Linked DNA regions of Homo sapiens: regions 1 and 2 are each linked to region 3. Evidence: promoter capture Hi-C in 16 types of primary human blood cells and fetal thymus (Javierre and others, 2016). All regions are on one chromosome and are shown on one strand. Each heading gives the region's core, a stretch centred on a gene start or on the middle of the fragment in contact. The rest is flanking DNA. Distances are from core to core; before and after follow the strand shown. Region 1 holds the start of CBLL1 (Cbl proto-oncogene like 1). Region 2 holds the start of COG5 (component of oligomeric golgi complex 5). Region 3 holds the start of RINT1 (RAD50 interactor 1).

Region 1 (4,443 bases), core at 170-2,669, 2.2 Mb after region 3:
CACAAATAATACCGTACAACTACAAAGATATAACACATCGCTACACATACTTTATTTGCAATTCAGTACCATGAAAACATTTCTCTAAGAGGTCAATGTAATAATCTTTTATTGATATAGGAACTCTGGCACTGAAAGCTTGAATAACCCAAGGTAATGATGTCGTCACCAAGGGAGGACAAGAATAGAACCCAAATCCCTTGACTCCCAAGCTTGTGTTTTCCATTAATTGTGCTCCTTTCTATTCATCCAAGAGCATCAAGTGTAAAAGGCTGGAGAAAGGAGTGGACACAAATGAGCCAAGTCCGCAAGGTGGAGACTGCACTGAAGGTCCTAGGAATCGCCCCTTGGCACTTTCCTTTTGTGTTGGCTGAGGAAGATGAAAGCAGCAACAACCACAAACTCCTGGGACCAAGAACTGGAACTAGGTACTGCTTGTTGTGGTAACTCTCTTCCTCATTTTAGGCCTTTCCTTTTTAACCTCTCCTTCCGGCCAAGCCTTCGCGCTCTCTTCCCCTCCCTCGGTTTCTATCCGCTCCCGTTAGCTCCACTCCGCACATTCCTGCAAGGTGTCCCCGTTAAGAGGAGGCAGCTGCGCCGCACTGGCTCTCCACCCTCCATCCGGCCCTGGCGCCCAGTCGTCAGGTGTTCGAGAGGTTCGTAGCGTCACAAGCGCTCTCCCTAGAAAGTGAGTGGCAGTCAAGCATTATAAACGTGTTTCAACTGTAAAGAGACTTAAGAGATGGGAACCGGGGCATATACCAAGTTAGCTCTGCGTGGGTCTAGGTAGCTCGTCACGACAAAGCAAAATTTAGACAAGCGTTGAGACTTTCCTTCTAGCTCCGAGTTTCACAGCTCCGCCATCCCCTGAGCAACCTCCCACTGGAGGGCGCCTTCCGGAGCGCGCGTGTTTACACTTTTGCTACACCAGGCGGAGGAAACAAGCGCTCGCTGACCCCGGGGGATTCCAAACCGTTACTCCGCCCGCCGGGGTGGGGCCAGCGCAACGGCCGAGCCTGCGCAGCCAGCCGGCTCCGGGGGCCCCGCGCACTACAAGTCCCAGAAGGCAGCTCTCCGCGGGGCGGGCAGTCGCCTTATCTGCTTCTGGCTCATTTTTACCACTGCTCTCCCCTTCCCCGGTCCCCCTGGTGTCCTTTCCACAGTTAAAGGCTACTTTCTCTTGAAGCACATGAGGAGAAGCCTTAGCAACCTCAATACCGAAGTTCTTCGCGCGCTCGCTCTTTCTGCCTCCGCCCGAACTATGCCTGAGTCCCTCACAGGAGTTGGATAGTAGAGGCGAGAGAAGGAAGTCTTTGCAGGCCAAAATTGGGACAACCTGCTTGGACTTCCGCCTCCCGGCCTCCGGAAGGCAGTGCGCACGCGCTCGCTGCGACTCCGGCGCGGTTGACTTCCGCTCCCACTGTGCTCTGCGAGCCGAATCATGGATCACACTGGTAAGGAGGCGGAGGCAGTGGGGGTCCCGGTTCCAAGCCCCCTTGGCCGGCCTGGGGCTGGTCGCACAGCAGGCAAAAGGGATTATGCTCGCCCCACAACACTAGGGTGTGGCAGTGAGAAGAAATCTCACAGATGCCTTCCTGTGCCCGGCAGGGGCCTGCGGTTTCCTGGCCTACCGTCTGGTGTGGTACCTACCTCCTCCGTGCCGGCAACAACCGCTCCTACTCTGGTTCTGCTGAGCTCCGAGCCCGGACCAGTGGGCGATGTAGGCCTTCGGGAAGGGAGAGCCCCGGCTCTGTTTTATTTAGCCCAGCTGCTCTGGCCTACGTTATGGAGACTGGCGGGTAGATTGCGGTCTCCGAGTCGCGGAATCCTCTTTACGCTGGGAGTGGACGGGCGAGAATGGGTTGGAGACTTCCTGCTGTCTCAGTCAGCTTTGGGCGGGTGCTGCAGTGGTCACCCCCTGTCGTCTCTCCGATCCTTTATGGACTAGAGGGGTGAAAGAAGGGAGTCTGATAGAGTTTTTGGAATCAAACTCGGAGCAGTTTTTCTACCTAAACCAAAAGCATGCCCCGCGCTTCGGCTGAGGTCCTTACTCATCATTTGAGGGTATTTACAAAGAGGAGTTTAAAATCAAGGCATTCTCATACTTTTCTCCAAGTAAGAGTGGCTCCACCCTTTGTTATGTATTTTCTGGCTTTTGCTTCTTTGTGGTTCTTGGATATTGAATGAGTGCTCTTGGAGTTATGTGCCCCATACATTTATAGCGACCGTATCACAAATAGAGAAAAAAAGGCTTTTTCTTGAGTATTGAGTTGTCCTCACTCATCAGATATCTACTTGGTTATATAATTAGGTGTGTATGTTTATTTATGTAGGTGTGTATGTTTATTTATGCAAGATACATGCAGATATCTATAGGTCGGGAGATGGAAGATGGAATGGTAAACGAGACGGACCAGGTCCGTGATAGAACTTCTGTTTTATGGAGGAACACAGACAATACGTTCTTTTTTTTTAAATTTATTATTTTTTTAATGTTTGCGGATTATTTTGAAGAAAATAAACGAGTGCTGTGGAGAGATTCATAGGACGAAATTTCAGAGAGGGTTGTTAGGAATGGTCTTTGTGGAAGCTAAGATCTGATGGATGAGAAGAACCCAGCCCTGGGAAAAAAGCAAGAGGAAGAGCATTTCCAGCAAGTGCGAAGGCACTGAGGTAGGAAGATACAGTGAAGTCAGCTGCAGCCTCCTAATAGCCAGAGGGTAGGAGTCCTGAAGTGAGATTGGAAAGGAGGGCAGCAGGCACATCATTCAGGTCATTGAAAGCCGTGGTAAACGTTTGAATTTTAATTTAAGTGAATATGAAGCCATTGAACAGAAGTGGAGGAGGAACACAGTCTCTTAAAAAATACAATAGGCTGTTCTATGAAGAATGGTGTAAGAGAGGGAGGTAAGAATGATGGAAAATAGCTGATTGCAGTAGACGGGAAGGGAAGGTTGGTTTGGTGAAAATGAAGGAGAATGGGCAGCTTCAGTAAATACTCTGGTGGTGTTTGAAGGAATGTGAGAGAAAGGAGAAATGCCTAGGCTTTTGGTTTGAGCAACTAGGTAGGGTCCATTATTGAGCTGAGGAAAACTTGGGGCAGAAAACAATCTTTTTTTGTAGAGGTGAGACGGGAATTTGGGAACAAGTGTTTGGTCTTGGACTGCTAGTGTGAGATAACTACTGAGACACAGGAGAGATGCCAAGTGGAGATGAGAGGAAAGATCTGCACTGAAAATACGTATTTGGAAGTTAGTACCTTTATTTATAGCTGGTATTTTAAAGCATGAGGACAGATGAGACCACTTAAGAAGGGTGTGTTCAGAGGAGAAGCCGGCCTAGAACGAGGCTGTAAAGAATTCCAGTGTTTGGGAATTTATAGAGTTGAAACTGGGATTTTGATGTTAGAATAGCAAACATTCAACTTTAGGAAAGTAATTCTTATTTGAGCCCACTACTGGAATTATGAGTCAAGTTCCTGCCATAGTTTAGAGGCTATTATGTTAGGAAATCATAATAGGGGTGAGTGTAAAGAGTGTTTATTATCTTAATTCTTGAAGTTTAGAGATTGCCTAAGGAAGTAAAACTCATCTTAACATGAAAATACTCACGAATGAGCTGACCACTTAAAAAATTAGTTCCCTCTCAGATGTCCCTTCTGCTTAACACTAGCTTCTTACCTATTTTATTTTTTTTAAATGAATCAATCTCTTTGATGTTTAGTATCAGAAGACAGTATCAAATACTGTGCACTGATTGTGAAATAAAATTATAAACCTTGTAGAAGATTCTGGTTTTCATGAAATTCGTAAACATGAATTTGATAATTGTTTAAATCACAAAGGCTTTGACAAATGAGGAAATGCCACTTAGCTAGATAATTGAAGAATCATGACAGGATAGGCATCTCAAAAGAATAATTGTAATATTAAAGGATTAAGAGGTCCTTGGGGAAACAGATGAAACCCTTGAACATTATGCAAAAATGACCCATTTTATGATCATACCGAAACATTCAAATGTGAAAATGAAGGTGTTCTAATAGAATCTTGCCAGAAAAATTACTCCAAGGGGCTCCCCATTAACACTGGATTTATTCTTTGGTCATTCTAAGAATTAGCACTTCTGTAACTGTATCCCAGATTTTGTAAAAGATCCCAGATTTTGTAAAATATTTATTGGTTCTTTTTATTCAAGATAAAAAATCCCCAATCTTTTTTAAACTATATGATATGGAAGTGTTGTGCCTTTTTAAAGTGAATTTATCTGAAGTGGCCAGTAGTCCTTAGTCACTTTCTATGTAATATCTAAGAAATTTTTGTTGTTAAGGACTTTATAATTTGTTACTGTATTCAAAAGGAAATAGTGCTTTATGCTCTGATTCTTAATTTAAAAACAACAAAAAGCAAAAAAGTCCCAAAGAAACCCAGAATGTTATCATTA
Region 2 (4,175 bases), core at 1,074-3,573, 2.0 Mb after region 3:
CAATGGCATAGATTGAGGGTGACTGAGTCCCCAGGAAACAGGAAGAAAAAATCCAGAGCAAAGTAGGAGGCACTATCCTTAGAACGGAGCAGAGACTCGGCCGGGCGTGGTGGCTCACGCCTGTAATCCCAGCACTCTGGGAGGCCAAGGCAGGCAGATCACGAGGTCAGGAGATCGAGACCATCCTGGCTAACACGGTGAAACCCCGTCTCTACTAAAAATACAAAAAATTAGCTAGGCATAGTGATGGGCGCTTGTAGTCCCAGCTTCTCAGGAGGCTGAGCCAGGAGAATGGCGTGAACCCCGGAGGCAGAGCTTGCAGTGAGCCGAGACTGCGCCACTGCACTCCAGCCTGGGCAACAGCGCGAGACTCCGTCTCAAAAAAAAAAAAGAAAGAAAGAAAGAAAGGAGCAGAGGCTCCACTTCCGTTGCAATTGAAAAGGCAAGGGAAAAAAGGTGCAACAGATGGTTATACGTTGAGGTTAAATTCATAGGTTTGATGGGCAAGAAATGGAGAAAGTTCACATCTGATGGATCCTCTTTTTCTCCCCAGGGAAGCTTAAAGTCATTTGTTGAGCTTGAAGCGAAAGGTTTGAAAAGGGTAAAGAAGATTTAAACAATCACTGTGGAGAATGGCAGAGAACCAAGGAGGAAAATACAGAAGGCAGAACTGAAGAGTATTTACCGTCCAAGAACTGATTACAATTCCTGAAATACATCCTACTGAAACATATATCCAATGTTCCACTGTTCACCTGGGGAAGTCCTGTCTACAGTTTAAAACGTCTCCACCTAGAAAGCCTTTTCTGACATTTCCTAACCAGTTTCCAACCCCCAGTTATCATTCTCCTCTGTATTAATGCTCTACTTTATATGCAATCCTACTGCTATCTTACATCACTATATTACAGCACCTACCTTTATAGTCTACAAGATTATTTCCTCTACTAGATGGTGAACTACTTGAGGGCAAAAATTGCACGTGTATCAGGAGCAACTGCAAATATATCAGGGTCTCTGCCTTGTATCTAAAGTTTAAATTCAGTTTAGCCAAGTTTTAGACAGAGACCCGGTCCTAGAGTTTCCAACATGAAATAGTTCAGAAAACATCATTGCTTTTGACAAAAGTACATAAATTATCATGAAAAGGCACGTAATTCAGGATGACAATAAAATATTTAACAGTCAGAGAAAATAAACAATAATTTGGAACTTTATTTCATTTATTACCCACTTCGGTCTTCAAATGTGTGCATGTGCTTCTAACTGCGATGATGAATTTAAAAAACATTCTGCACCTACTGTATGCAAGATACTGCTATTCACACTGTGGGATATTAAAAAAAGTTTGCAATACAGAAGAGATTAAAACAAGTATACAAATGATTTTAGTACAAGGTAGAATGCGATGGCCACTAGAGAAAAAATTAAGAACAGGTGAGAAGGGCTTTATTTTTATGCTTATAAATGTGAACTTTATTCTGAAGGATAAGAGATTCGGGACATGGTAACTGGATTGACACAACTGAATATGCTTTTCAAGTATATTATATCTAACTTTTCTTATTTTGGGCAACTTCTCTCCAAACTGACTAGCAATAAAATCTGACTGCTAGATTCTGTACAAATGGTTAATCCCAACCTGAACAAATGTCTCAAACCCTCCCCCACGTGTCACTGTAGATAACTGCCTCATAAAGGAGGAAAAAAAAAACCAGCCTGTAAGAGGGGTCACCTGTACAGTCCATTTGTTAAAGGAGTAAGCGTTTCCAGCTCTACTTTAAAACAAGGCCCTATTTCATTATGCGTCTGCCGTCTGTTCTAGAGCTTACACTTTTGAAGAGCTCGAACGCTACACCCCTTCGTCAAGAACTGCGGCAGCAGCCGGTGGCTGCCAACGCGGTCCACAGGGTTTGGGCTCCCGAAACTTCAGGGAAGCTGGAGGCATGGGGGGGGGGGGGGTCGAGTTGAAATGAGGAACACACAGAAACCAAGTGTCCCCAAGACTCCAGAAAAGAGGGAGCCAGTCCCAGAGTAAATAGGTTGGCTAGAACAGTACCCAAGCCAGGGGGCCGGGCGGAGGGGAGTGGTCACGTCCAGACTGGAAAACTTTCTGCAAAGCAACGGGTTGGGTCCACCTCGCTGTCCAGGTGCGGAGCAGCGCAGACCCCCAACCCCACGACCTGGTCAGACCCCGTCTCCTTACCGTCCTGCAGAAGTTCCCGGACTGTAGCTGCAGCCGCTCCAGAGCCTCGAGCTCCGAGGCCAGCTACAGCGACGCTGCCGCCGCCACCTTCCATGTTGGCAGGTGCCGGGTTGATGTCGTCAGCAGCAGAACGGCTCCGCCCAGGTGGTGACGCAGAATCCCGGCGCCGCCCGCCCACCCAGCCCATGGCTCCAGGCCCACCTGGCGAACTGACTCTCAGCCCGCGCCTGGGCTAAGCCTGGCTAGGAGCCGCGCAGGTACTCGAGCAGTGGGCGCCCAGGGTCCGAGTGCTCTGCGCCCAGCGCACCGAGGGAGCCAAGGCCGTCGGGCCGGCGCTTTCAGCTGTCTCTCGCAGCAGCTCAGGGCCGCGCCCCCTGGGCTGGCGTCGTGCCCTAGCCAAGGAGAAGGTGGGCACCGGAACGTGGCCGCAGCGCTTATCTGTGAAGCAAGTATTAAACCTCAGAACAGGGGCCGCGCGGCGTAAGGCAGGAGAGCAGAGCGGAGGTTTCAGGGAGCTTCGTTTGCCCTCCACACTCACAAGAGTCACGCGTTAGTTGCTACACAGCTTTATCTGTTCCACGCCTTGATTGGCACTCCTGGGGTAATAAAAGCCCGCAGGAAATGCTTGGGAAGAAAAGTTGCTGGGGATGAACAGTGAAGAGAATTAGGGAGAGTCGATGAAGAAGGAAGTCTGAACCATAAAAGGACCAATAAAACTCACTGTCTCTACCCTCCTTCCTTCCCATGAGACCTTTGACCTTTTGCCTTTTCTACTTCTTCCTCAGTTTCAGTCACGTGCCAGACTTTTTCTTAATTACAAACTGATAGATGGTCCACATCTCAACTAACAGTATTGACGCTGTAAGAGCATCAGGTTGGTTCCCATTGTATCTTCTTTACTAATACGTTCGCGTTTTTGACCTAGATTTCTTTCTTCTAAGATAAATACTGATAAATTAACAGGGTCAGGCAACCACAAGTATGCAAGACAGTCTTAAGCTTCTTCGCAAAAAGAAGCTGGAAGATGACTTTTTCATTTTGTACAGTAGGTATGTATCCAGGAAACCAATTTTATCCAGTTCCAGAGCTACGTGGTTTTCTACATTCTGTTTCAAAAAGGTGCTATTACTTATCCTGTGCTTATCGCTGTTCTAAGTATTTTATAACTCAATGCATTTCATACTCATAACACCTCAGGTAAGCAAGTCTTATGCTACACTGCATTATGCTCTCTTTGTCTCAGAGGATTTTCCCTAGTATGTAAGATCTTAGTCATGATGGGAATAGGGGTGATTCATTCATTACTTGTGAATTAGGAATTGTTTTTCCTTCCTTGGCTTTATTCCCCCCAGTGGAAGATTTTAGAAGAGTGAGTAATATTCATTCATACAGCGAAAGTTTTGACCCCTCTACTCTGCATGCTCTCATGAGTTTACAAACATAAGACTCAATCCATATTCTAAAAGGAGTTAATAGGTAAGGTAGGAACCCATTTAAACAAACAATTGTACCAGGTGCTTTGGAATCTTTGGATTTACTTATTCCAGTAATTCCAAGCTTAGCTGCACATTGAAATCACCTGAAGAGCTTTAATAAAAACACTGATGCCTGCATCCTGAGCCCAGACGTTTGGATTTAATTGGTCTAGGGTATGGCTTGGGCATGCTAATTCTTAAAAGCTCCTCGGGTCATTGTAGTGTACAACTAAGGTAGAAAGCTACTGATTGTTTTGTTTTGTTGAGTTGGGGTCTAGCTCTGTTACCCAGGCTGGAGTGCAGTGGCAGGATCGTGGCTCACTGCAGCCTCAACCTCCTGGGCTCAAGGGATCCTCCTGCCCAAGCTTCTGGAGTAGTTGGGATCACAGTCGCTTGCTACCACGCCCAGCTGATTTTTATAATTTTTTTAGAGATGGGGGTCTCACTATATTGCCCAAGCTGGTCTCAAACTCCTGGCCTTAAGCAAGCCTCCC
Region 3 (4,342 bases), core at 1,117-3,616:
GGTGCCAGTCTATAGTCCTAGCTACTCAGGAGGCTGAGGTGGGTGGATCCCTTGAGCCCAGGAGTTTGAGGTTACAGTGGGTTATGGCTGCACCACTGCACTCCTGCCTGGGCAACAGAGGGAGAACTTGTCTCAAAAAACAAACAAAAAAACCAAAACCAAAACAAATGACGACAACAACAACAATAAAACAGAGTGACTACAGTTAATAATTTATTGCATATTTTAAAATAACTAAAAGAGTGGAATTGGACTGTTCCTAACACAAAGAAATGATAAATTCTCAAGATGATCAATACCCCAGTTACTCGGATTTGATAGTTACACATTGTATACCTGTATCAAAACATCACATGTCAGACGGCTGGGCAGCCATGGCGTCCTATATCGATGAACACGACTGTGAGCCGTTGGACCCTCAAGCAGGAGACTCGAACCAACATGGTGCTGGAGCTCGTAAGGTCACTTTTGAATAGGATGGACTTTGAAGACTTGGGGTTGGTAGTAGATTGGGACCACCACCTGCCTCCACCGGCTGCCAAGATTGTGGTTGAGAACCTCTCCAGGACAGTCATCAGAGGCTCTCAAGGCTGAGCTCAAGTGCCCCGTGTATCTTTTGGAATCTGAGGAGGAGACTGCCATTGAGATGCTTCCCAACACCTTTTTCATTCCAGTTGCATTCTGCCCTGGCTAAGCAAGACAAATTCCTGTCCCTTGTGCCGCCATGAGCTGCCCACTGATGACTACACTTATGAGGAACACAGACGAGATAAGGCTCGAAAACAGCAGCAGCAGCAGAACCGACTGGAGAACCTCCATGGAGCCATGTACACGTGAGGAGGCTGGGGCTGAGCGCCGGTCCTCTGTGTCTTCCCTACAAACCTTGAATCCTCATTAAAATTTCTTTACCCGTCCCCCGCCCCGCCCCAGAAAAAAAGGCCGGGCGCAGTGGCTCACACCTGTAATCCCAGCACTTTGGTACGCCAAGGCGGGCAGTTCACCCGAGGCCGGGAGTTCGAGACCAGCCTGACTAACATGGAGAAACATCGTCTCTACTAAAAATACAAAATTAGACGGGCGTGGTGGTGCATGCCTGTAATCCCAGCTACTTGGGAGGCTGAGGCAGGCGAATCGCTTGAACCTGGGAGGCGGAGGTTGCTGCGAGCAGAGATAACGCCATTGCACCCCAGCCTGAGCAAAAAAAAAACAAACACACATGTACACTATAAATATATACGATTATGTTCCCATAATAGGTAATTTAAAAAATAGTATCCTTGTTTTTTTTTTTTTTTTTAAATGAGACGGAGTCTTGCTCTGTCGTCCAGGCTAGAGTGCAGTGGTGCGGTCTCTGCTCACTGCACGCTCCACCTCCCGGGTTCACGCCATTCTCCTGCCTCAGCCTCCTGAGTAGCTGGGACTACAGGCGCCCACCACCACGCCTGGCTAATTTTTTGTATTTTTAGTAGAGACGGGGTTTCACCATGTTAGCCAGGATGGTCTCGATCTCCTGACCTCGTAATCTGCCTGCCTCGGCCTCCCAAAGTGCTGGGATTACAGGCGTGAGCCACAGCGCCCAGCCATCCTTGTTTTATGCTTGCAATAGTAATTTGTAGCTCGATTATATATCTCTGTGCACATGTATTTGATTTTTCTTCTCACCGTGTGGTTTCTTTTTCCTCTGAGGGTTGCTTTCCCCCCCCCTTGTTTGTTATGGTCTCTATGGTACTCCTTCCGTGTTAGTTTGTTTAAGAGGCTGTCAAGTCCACAGGTCCTCTACACAACCCTTGCTGCTAGGTAGCTCCCTTTCCTCCTCCCTGGTAAAAGACAGGGTTTTGGGCGAAACACATGTTAGATGCTCTGTTCTCTTCATTCAGCTCCCAGAACGCTTATAACCACCTCTACACCCTCTAGGCAGGAAATCAGAAGCTCATCTCTAGGGACTCTGACCAACGTTAAAAGAAATATCTAAAGATACTGACATTCATTGGAAACCCCCAACTAAATATTCGAACCAAATAACCCTGCACCGAAGCTCCTAGTCAACAAGCCCCCCACACTCTCAGAACATCTGGATATTGCCTAAAATATAAATTTAAATTATTCATATTGAATTTAAGGCGTTGGGAGAGGGATATCTTAAAGTTCCATCATTAAGAGCTTCAATAAAGTGGAGGGGACTTTTACCGCGGTGGAGTGAGCGAATCCCTTCTCTGGAGCTCCATAGGGGAGGGTGCCCGCTTCCTGAGTGGCCGTTCCGACCTCCGGTCAGGAGGGGGAGGAACAGAGCACGGCCGGCGGCTGCACGGGCAGGGCCTCTCTGGGCTGAGAGGAAGAAACCAGTGAGACATCGAGAGGAAGTCGCTGTGGCACTCAGTCCTACGGCCTCCGAGGCTGGGTAGTGAGTGTGTCGCTGGCCTTAGCCAGACTCCACAGGCCACGCTGGCTGCGAATGGAGCCGAGGACTCGCGCGGAGGCGAGATGCTACCAGCCGGCGAGATCGGCGCCTCTCCTGCAGCCCCGGTGAGACGGCCCTGGCGTCCCTGGGAGGGGACATTGGTGGCCCATTGAGGTGGCACAGACCTCCCGGGGGAGATAGTCCCGGTGCGGTGGCCCTGTAAGCTTGTGAAGGTGCTTCCTGCGGCTTAGATTAGAGGCCCTTGTAAGACCTCCTAGAGGAGGCGGTAGTCCCCGTGAAGTGGCTTTGGCGGCCCTGGTGAGATGACAGATTTCTCTAGGGAGGTGGCTCTAGTGAGCAGGCAAGGTAACTCCAGGTCCTGCGGAGGTGACACACACCTCCTGGGAAGGTGGCGGTGGCACCAGGACAGTGGCACTTTGAGGTACCTGATTCGGACGGCCCTGGTCGCTCAGAAAGTGGGAGAGCGTCTGGAACCTCTCTTGCCTCCAGTGGGTGCCCTTTGGGAGCCCCGTATGCTTTCCATCCACGACTTTAATCTTAATGTGCTTGTCACATCTGTTCTTCTTCTAGTGCTGCTCTGAAAGTGGTGACGAAAGGAAGAACCTCGAGGAGAAAAGTAAGCCAGCTCCAAACACCTTAGCTTTTTCTTCCCGCCCAAACTCAGCCTTCCAGGGTCTGCAATATAGAAAGGTTCTTTGCCTATCTTTTAGATGCAGTACCGTTTTCTGCACAATATGCTTATATGGTAATACTGATGACCATGATACACATATTTTTGTCTTTCTAAAATTGTAAAATATGGGATGCTTTGGAGAAGAGCACTTCCCGATCCATACCTAGTACAGGGACTAGAGTGTTTTCGCTGGAAGTCTGCCTATCATACAGTACTCAGAATAATTGGGGCCTGCCTGTCATTTTAATGAAACATCAACTTACTAAGCATCAGGAATTTGGAGGGGCCCATGATCTAGGACAGACGACCACCACCCTAATTGGGTTCAAAGGAGGCAAATGACAGTTGTTTAGTTCACCTTCAGTAAATTGGCAATTTAAAATTGCTCTGGCAAGAGCACAACGGATAACTTGGGTTCTGGATCTTGGACTGGACAGGAAAGGGGGAAAAGGTCAGTACCACCATTTCCTCCCTAGTACGGGAGTATATGTCAGGGTTGTGGACTTTTGCCATTTTACTTTGATGGCAGGTTATTGCAAATCAAGGGCTCTTTAGGGACCTTTGAAGTGACATTTTTTGGGAGAGGAAGGGGAAAAGCATGTGATAGCTCTGCTATTGGGATTTTTGGTTCTTTTGACTGTGGCAAACAGTTGGGAATGTGTAGCAGTAAGAAAAACGGTGCCCACATTAGCACATGGCCCTTAGGAGTAAGATTTGCCCTTAACATTAGCGGCTGATAGAATCTGCCTCAGAAAGAAGGCTCTGAGCAGTCCATAGCACATGACTGTCATAACTGCCACATCTCAGCTCCTTTTTCTTGAAGGATTTCAGAGTGCCTTGTATCTCTCAGTTAAACCCTTCCCTTTCCATTTTCCACCTTTGCCTCATTCAGATGCCTGGAAAGTAGTCTGATGCCTACTGAGCTGTCATTTTAATAAAATAATAGATGTAGACTATCATATCAAGGACTTTGACCTTGTTCCTCTTTCCACAGCTCAAACTGCTTTGCAGTTAGGAGTGCTCTTTACAAAAAATAGAAAAGGAGACACATAAAAACCTCCCAAACCACCGGTGTGTCATTTTGAAGAATGTCATTTCACTAAGAATGTACTATGCCACATTTGAATGGTTACACATCAAGGGTGTAATTTTTTTTTTTTTTGAGACTTAGTCTCACTCTGTCTCTCAGGCTGGAGTGCAGTGGCGCGATCTCGCCTTACTGCAAGCTCCGCCTCTGAGTTCAAGTAATT

What was found. The method cuts DNA at HindIII sites, captures the fragments that hold promoters and counts their contacts. A CHiCAGO score of 5 or more calls a contact.
Region 1: the fragment with the promoter of CBLL1 here is called in contact with the fragment with the promoter of RINT1 in region 3 in 1 of 17 cell types (non-activated CD4 T cells); the score reaches 6.5 in non-activated CD4 T cells.
Region 2: the fragment with the promoter of COG5 here is called in contact with the fragment with the promoter of RINT1 in region 3 in 1 of 17 cell types (activated CD4 T cells); the score reaches 7.0 in activated CD4 T cells.

What each region holds. Positions count from the first base shown.
Region 1 is chr7:107,742,723-107,747,165 of GRCh38, forward strand. It overlaps CBLL1 (Cbl proto-oncogene like 1), which reads left to right and starts at 1,420. Exons shown (of 6, transcript NM_024814.4): 1 at 1,420-1,454. The coding sequence starts at 1,442. It overlaps CBLL1-AS1 (CBLL1 antisense RNA 1), which reads right to left and starts at 1,859. Exons shown (of 2, transcript NR_144537.1): 1 at 1,651-1,859; 2 at 31-681. RefSeq lists enhancers at 9-528, 529-1,047, 1,145-1,364, 1,715-1,894 and a silencer at 905-1,104. The HindIII fragment of the contact is 5,122 bases long and covers 211-4,443 here.
Region 2 is chr7:107,561,597-107,565,771 of GRCh38, forward strand. It overlaps COG5 (component of oligomeric golgi complex 5), which reads right to left and starts at 2,324. Exons shown (of 22, transcript NM_006348.5): 1 at 2,207-2,324. The coding sequence starts at 2,300. DUS4L-BCAP29 (DUS4L-BCAP29 readthrough) reads left to right here and starts at 2,375. Exons shown (of 13, transcript NR_163941.2): 1 at 2,375-2,613; 2 at 2,992-3,080. It overlaps DUS4L (dihydrouridine synthase 4 like), which reads left to right and starts at 2,375. Exons shown (of 8, transcript NM_181581.3): 1 at 2,375-2,613; 2 at 2,992-3,080. RefSeq lists silencers at 2,203-2,413, 2,452-2,551 and enhancers at 2,252-2,371, 2,902-4,101. The HindIII fragment of the contact is 2,647 bases long and covers 557-3,203 here.
Region 3 is chr7:105,529,835-105,534,176 of GRCh38, forward strand. RINT1 (RAD50 interactor 1) reads left to right here and starts at 2,367. Exons shown (of 15, transcript NM_021930.6): 1 at 2,367-2,523; 2 at 2,990-3,035. The coding sequence starts at 2,482. It also overlaps the pseudogene LOC100131785. RefSeq lists enhancers at 1,648-1,697, 1,985-2,562, 2,148-2,447, 2,538-2,717, 2,563-3,139. The HindIII fragment of the contact is 4,822 bases long and covers 1-2,620 here.